Linked DNA regions of Homo sapiens: region 2 is linked to region 1. Evidence: promoter capture Hi-C in human tissues and cell types (Jung and others, 2019). All regions are on one chromosome and are shown on one strand. The core of a region is centred on a gene start or on the middle of the fragment in contact, and the rest is flanking DNA. Distances in the headings are between cores, read along the strand shown.

Region 1 (3,566 bases), core at 779-3,278:
GTTCAAGCAATTCTCCTGCCTCAGCCTCCTGAGTAGCTGGAACGGACACAGGTGTGTGCCACCATGCCTGGCTAATTTTTTGTATTTTTAGTAGAGATGGGGTTTCACTGTGTTAGCCAGGATGGTCTCAATATCCTGACCTCAGATGATCCACCCACCTTGGCTTCCCAAAGTGCTGGGATTACAGGCATGAGCCACTGCACCTGGCCAATAGTGTTTTTTGATGAGCAGGAGTTTTAAATTTTGATGAGGTCCATTTATCAATTGTTTTCAGGGTCCATGCTTTTTTTAAAAATTTTTTCTTTTTTTAGAAACGGTGTCTCTTTGTCACCCAAGCTGAAGCGCAGTGGACTGATCATAGTTCACTGCAGCCTTGAACTCTTGGGCTCAAGCAATTTGCCTGCCTCAGCCTCCTGAGTATGTGGGATACAGGCTCATGCCACCATGCCTGGCTTTTTTGTATCCTTTCTAGGAAATCTTTGCATACCCCAAGATTTAAAAGATACCCTCCTGTTTTATTCTAGTAGCTTTATCGATTTGCTTTATGTTTAGGCCAATGATCTCTCTTAAATTGCGTTTTGAATATGGTGTGAGGTAGGGATTGGGTCCCTTCAGGCACATAAATATCTACTTGTTCCAACACCACTTCCTGGTGTTCTTGTCCAAAATCATTTGACCCATATCAGATGGATCAGATGGTTCTCATTATTTTTCCAACAGTAAACATTGCAGCTAAGAATGTGTCTCATGCAGTCTCTCTCCACTCAAAAAGTGTGGTCTGCAGACCAGTGGCGTCACATCACCTGGGAGCTTGTCAGAAATTCAGAATCTGGCACCACTCCAGCATTACACAACCCCCTAGTGAGTCTCAGGCACGTTACATTTTGAGGAGCAATAGTGTAGATATTTCTTGAGGAATGAGGATAATTTTTGAGGAATGAGGGGAAACATCATCATGACATTTGCTGCCTCTCACAGCCTCCCCATGCACTACAGCCTGTGGGGCCTGCCAACCCATTTTCCCTGGTTACTGTGCAGGGCTAGATTTACTTCCAGACTTAACCTCTGGGTCCACCTCTCCTGACATGTGCTGTGCCGTTCTTTGCTGCTGGGATTGAGGGAAGGGGGCCCACTCACTCACCCACTCCTCACCTTTTAATACCCACAACCACCTGCTCACTCACCCAGCAGTTCCTATGCTCTCCCCTATACACATTCTTTCACCAGGAACCTCAGTTTCCTCAATTGCAGAACCAAAATAAGAATGGTCTTGATATCAGGAACTACTGTGAAGGGAAGTGATCTGAGGAGTACCTGGGCATGGAGACAGCACAATATAAGTCAGTTATCGTCATGGCCATTTCAGAGCTCTTTTTCCAGTAAAGCCCCTGGATGCTGCTCGCCTCTGCTATGTAGCCTCACTCCCCTGCAGCCGGGCAGAATGGAGTCCCCCTCCTCTCCAGCCTGACTTCTCCTCCCCTGCTCCGCGTCCCCAGGGCAGCGTGCACCGATAAATCTTTCCCAGCGCGTTGCATTGTTACAGCGAGTTGCCCTCGCATCCGACCGGCCCCCCGCCCCACCTCTGGAGATCTTCAAACCCAGGATCTGTGCCTTGGTCGTCTTTGAAGCCCCGGCCCCTGGCACAGCGCCTGGCACCTGGAGGGCGCTCAATAAATGTTTGCAAAATCGAATTCTCTGTTGAGCAGGTGTCCACCCCTCCACTCGCGGAGGGTGGGTTGCGCGGGCGGAAGGGAAGTCTGGCTGTGTGCCAGGGTGCGGGGGGACACAGGCAGGGGACTCAGGGAGCGGGAGAGCGGGAGCGGGTACGACGCCGGCTAGCGGAGCCCGGCCCGGAGGGTGCGGCGGTGCCAGACGCGGAGGGCGGCCTCCGCTCCTCCCCCGCCTCCTCCCCGCGCCGCGCCTCCTCCCCGCGCCGCGCCTCCTCAGGCTCCGCCACCCCCGCCCGGCGCGGCAGCCGCAGGGAGGGGTCCGGGAAGGCGGAGCCAGCGGCGGCCCAGGCTCTGGGCACTCGCGCGGCTCCCGTTCGCGGAGCACACATCCCGGCGCGACGAGGTAGGAGGCCGCGAGGGGAACGGACGAGGGAGCTGGGCGCCGCGGCGGGAGGGGCGGGAGGCCGGGCCGAGACCCTCCTCCCGTGCTCCCGGACAGCCTCGCGGCCCACCGAGCCCACCGCGGGAGTCTCAACCCCGCCCCTCGGCCCCCGCCTCCCTCTTCCCGCGCCCGCCCCGCCGCGCGCCCCCCGCTCCCTGCTGCTCCGCGTCCTCCGGGACCGCCCTCCGAGGTCCCCCGGGGTCGCTGCTCCTGCGCCCAGTGCGCTCCTTGTTCTCCCACAGGTTCCTTCGGAGAGCGAGCGGGAGTCGGTGCTCGGCCTCCTGCGGGGAGCAGCCCGAGGGTGAGTCCGGCGTGGCGTGGCGGGGCGGGGCGGGGCGGAGGCTGGAGGGCCCGGGGCCGCTCTTACGCCTCTTAGTGGCACCGGGGCTCGGCGCTGCGGGCTGGCTCCATGTTTGCGGAATGAATCAGTCATGACTCTCCTTCTCCTCTTCCTAAGGAGGACTTTTTGAGGTCCACGTGCTGCAGAGCACCTTTGGAGGGCCTCATGAGATAGGGGTCCCCCCTCCTGCATAGTGGAAGCCCGACTCCCATTTCCCCCCCTCCTCTCTGCACTCCAGTCTGGAGGCTCCCTTTGGGTTGGGTCTTGGGGGGTCGGGGACAGGGGGCTTGTAGGCCCAGCCAGGTAGTTGTGGAAGGTGTGTCCCAGCAGGAGACTTGAGCCAGGGCTCTTAGAAGGTTGCAGTGGAGGGGGCGCGCTGCGGAGGACAGCTGACACTGTCAGGCAGGGTCACTTGGCACCTCCAAGGCCAGCCTGGAAGAGCCTGCTTGAATATGGATTTTGACCCACAGCTTACTGAAAGCTTCCACGCCGCTGTTTCTTCATCAATAAAATGGGAACATTCGCAGTCATTTCTCAGGACTTTGTGCAGACAAAAAGTTTATCATAGAAATCACCCCACACAATGCTTGGCACATCGAGGACACTCAGCACATCTTAGCTTTATTTCCTTCCTCTCTGAAAAAAGTAAGCAGAGTTATTTGTTCCCATCCTCTCTGTCCACAGCCTGGTCTCAGAGAACACAGTAGATGTGTAGTCAGTTTGTTCAATAAATATGCTTGATGGAGCTTCAATACCCACCTCCACCCCCTTCTCCCAGAATCTGCAGGGAGAGGTCGGGAGGTGACAACGCCAGCATGCCAGTGCTATCGGAGGACTCTGGTAAGTACCTCCCCCCGGCTGGACCTGCCACAGTCCTGAAGACAAGAGCCTGCCTGGCAGCCTCCAGGCCCTGGCAGTGAGAGCCTGGGGAGAGAATGTCCTCACGGCAGGACTGAAGTGCTGTTTGAGGCCCCACTCGGGCTCCTCGGGGGCAGGGAGCACCCACTGCGTTTGCTATCCTTTGTTTTTCTCACCTCTCCCCAGGTTTGCATGAAACCCTGGCCCTGCTGACCTCCCAGCTCAGACCTGACTCCAACCACAAGGAGGAGATGGG
Region 2 (3,566 bases), core at 435-2,934, 250 kb after region 1:
GGGCACTGGAGAGTTGAGCAGGGAAACACCAAGGGGATATGTGCACTTTGTCCAGGTGACCCTGGTGGCACTGTGAAGGCTGGTGTGGAAAGGGGTGGGGCTGGAGGCAGGAGGACAGTCAGAAGAGAGCAGGGCTGACAAGCAGGGCAGTGGGGATGCAGAGGAGGGCAGGCTTTAGAAGACATTTAGAAGCCAGGCCGGTGCTTGTAATTGCAGCACTTTGGGAGGCCAAGGAAAGCAGATCACTTGAGTTCAGGAGTTTGAGGCCAGCCTGGGCAACATGGTGAAACCCCTTCTCTACAAAAAGTACAAAAATTAGCCAGGTGTGGTGGTGCACACCTGTAATCCTAACTACTTGGTGGGGCTGAGATGAGAGGATCACTTGAGCCTGGGAGATTGAGGGTGCAGTAAGCCATGTTTGCACCACTGCACCCCAGCCTGGGCAACAGTGTGAGAAACCCAATTCTGTCACGTTTGGTGGCTGGCTGATGACAGCTGTTCAACAAAGAAACACCAGTGGATGAAGGGAGACCTAATTTCCTAAAGAAGCCAAACCAAAACCTCATGCAACAATTCCTGAGGGACAGGAAGTATCTGCCCACAGCTGTTTTGTCCAGGCTGCTTGGGGCTGCAGTCAGCCAGGGAACCAAGGGAACTGAACCCCAGGGCCCAGTCTTTACTGGCAGCTGCCCATCTTAGAACCCACGGTACAATGGGGGAAGGCCCTAAGAGACAATTAAGGCATTTGCCTCCAACACAACTTAAGGGAGTGCCCCAAAACTCAGAAATCAAGATAGATAACTGATATGGTTTGGCTCTGTGTCCCCACCCAAATCTCATCTTGAATTGTAACTCCCACCATTCCCACGTGTCATGGGAGGAACCCAGTGGGAGGTGATTGAATTATGGGGGTAGATCTTCCTGCACTGTTCGTGTGATACTGAATGAGTCTCATGAGATCTGATGGTTTAAAAAAAAAAAAAGCAGAAGTTTGCCTGCACAAGCTCTCTCTTTTTGCCTGCTGTCATCTGTGTAAGATGTGACTTGCTCCTCCTTGCATTCTTCCATGATTGCGAGGCTTCCCCAGCCACGTGGAACTGTGAATTCTCTATTAAACCTCTTTCTTTTGTAATTTGCCCAGTCACAGGTATGTCTTTATCAGCAGCGTGAAAAGTGACAAATACAATAATACTTTTTTGTTGTTTTTGAGATGGAATCTCACTCTGTTCCCCAGGCTGGAGTGCAGTGGCATGATCTCGGCTCACTGCAACCTCTGCCTCCCAGGCTCAAGCGATTCTCCCACCTCAGCCTCCCTAGTAGCTGGAACTACAGGCATGCATCACCACCATGCCTGGCTAATTTTTGTATTTTTAGTAGAGACGGGATTTTACCATGTTGGCCAGGCTGGTCTCCAACTCCTGACCTCAGGTGATCCACCTGCCTCAGCCTCCCAAAGTGCTGGGATTACAGGTATGAGCCACTGTGCCCGGTCCAAGATAGATAATACTTTAACGCAATTTTTAAAAATCAAAATTGGCCAGGTGCATTGGCTCACGCCTGTAATCCCAGCACTTTGGGAGGCCAAGGCGGGTGGATCATGAGGTCAGGAGATCAAGACCATCCTGGCTAACACGGTGAAACCCTGTCTCTACTAAAAGTACAAAAAATTAGCCGGGCATGGTGGCGGGTGCCTGTAGTCCCAGCTACTAGGGAGGTTGAGGTAGGAGAATGGCGTGAACCCAGGAGGCGGAGCTTGCAATGAGCCAAGATCGCGCCACTGCACTCCAGCCTGGGCAACAGTGCGAGACTCCATCTCAAAATAAAAAAAAATCAAAATTAATGTAAAAATTGATGATGAACAAAATATTAAGATTTCAAATAAACACAAGATCCAACCCTTCCCTCAATATCGTGTCTCATTCACCTCACCCTAATCTCAGTCTTGGTTCCAATAAAACCTTGTTTTAAAAAACAGGCAGCCAGCTCACAGACTGTAGTTTACTGACAACAAAAATATTGCATTAGGCCAGGCACAGTGGCTCACATCTGTAATCCCAGCACTTTGGGAGGTTGAGTCAGGAAAAGTTTTTTTTTGAGATGGAGTCTCGCTCTGTTGCCCAGGCTGGAGTGCAATGGCGCAATCTCGGCTCACTGCAAGCTCCACCTCCTGGGTTTACGCCCTTCTCCTACCTCAGCCTCCCTAGTAGCTGGGACTACAGGTGCCTGCCACCATACCTGGCTAATTTTTTGTATTTTTAGTAGAGACGGGGTTTCACCATGTTAGCCAGGATGGTCTTAATCTCCTGACCTTGTGATCGGCCTGCCTCGGCCTCCCAAAGTGCTGGGATTACAGGCGTGAGCCACCATGCCTGGCCTAGGCAGGAAAATTTTTTGAGGCCGGGAGTTCAAGACCAGCCTGGGAAACATAGCAAGAACCTGTCTCTACAAAAAATAAATAAATTAGCTGGGCGTGGTGGCACATGCCTGTAGTTCCAGCTACTCAGGAGGCTGAGGCAGGAGGATTGCTTGAGCCCAGGAGTTCCAGGCTGCAGTGAGCCATAACTGTGCCACTGCATTCCAGCCTGAGGCACAGAACAAGACCCTGTCTCTGAAAGAAAAAAAAAATGCATTAAATTTTATTTATCTTGATTACTCGGTGCCCCTTACATTTTGGGCCTGTGGTGAGTTCCTCACTCCCCTCACTCTAAATCTGGGCCAGCCAGAGAAGGCCCCTTCCTGGAATACAAGCCCCAGTGAGAAGACCTACAGCCTGCAGAGAACAATGTGCCCACATTAATTCTGCTTGGGATCACAATCATTCCATGTGTGCTGAGGGCTCCACATTGGTCAGTAACCCCTAATGCCCCTGTCCCTTAGATTATCTGATGCCACCATACACCTAGGACGAGTTATTTAAGCTTTCTTTTTTTTTTTTTTTGAGACAGAGTCTCGCTCTGTCGCCTAGGCAGGAGCGCAGTGGTGCGATCTCGGCTCACTGCAAGCTCCGCCTCCTAGGTTCACGCCATTCTCCTGCCTCAGCCTCCCGAGCAGCTGGGACTACAGGTACCCACCACCACGCCCGACTAATGTTTTGTATTTTTTAGTAGAGATGGGGTTTCACCGTGTTAGCCAGGATGGTCTCGATCTCCTGACCTCGTGATCCACCCGCCTCGGCCTCCCAAAGTGCTGGGATTATAGGCGTGAGCCACCGCGCCCAGCCTGCTGAGTTGTTTAAGATTTCTAAGCTCATCTGTCTCATCTGTAATAGGGAGAGAGGAATGTTAATTTGCTGCTCTTCATGCCAAAGAAATCTAAATTGGCCTGAACCCAGGACCTTTTGCACATCCAATGCATCAGCACTGAGAGCATTGTGCCAGGCATTGTCCTGGGGAAATGTTGACAAACAGGGTGTGAGATGTATTCCCAAGCCCTACTCACCACAGTTTATATTCACAGCCTAGGAAGAGATAGGCCCAGGAGCCAGGTGCGGTGTCTCATGCCTGTAACCCCAGCACTTTGGGAGGCCGAGGTGGGCAGATCATGAAGTCAGGAGATCGATACCATCC

The links. Contacts are between HindIII fragments. The study calls those that stand out against the background at their distance.
Region 2: a contact is called between a fragment that was not itself captured here and the fragment with the promoter of MPP3 in region 1, in 1 of the 25 tissues and cell types used here (dorsolateral prefrontal cortex).

Annotation. Positions count from the first base shown.
Region 1 is chr17:43,831,608-43,835,173 of GRCh38, reverse strand. It overlaps MPP3 (MAGUK p55 scaffold protein 3), which reads left to right and starts at 2,028. Exons shown (of 20, transcript NM_001932.6): 1 at 2,028-2,073; 2 at 2,355-2,413; 3 at 3,231-3,292; 4 at 3,497-3,566. The coding sequence starts at 3,268. It overlaps LOC107984979 (a long non-coding RNA gene), which reads right to left and starts at 1,469. Exons shown (of 3, transcript XR_001753057.2): 1 at 1,185-1,469. RefSeq lists silencers at 1,899-1,998, 2,019-2,068. The HindIII fragment of the contact is 8,852 bases long and covers 1-3,399 here.
Region 2 is chr17:43,585,333-43,588,898 of GRCh38, reverse strand. No RefSeq gene overlaps it. Among named protein-coding and RNA genes, the nearest start is that of ETV4, 41 kb to the right of the region's middle. The HindIII fragment of the contact is 8,760 bases long and covers 1-3,566 here.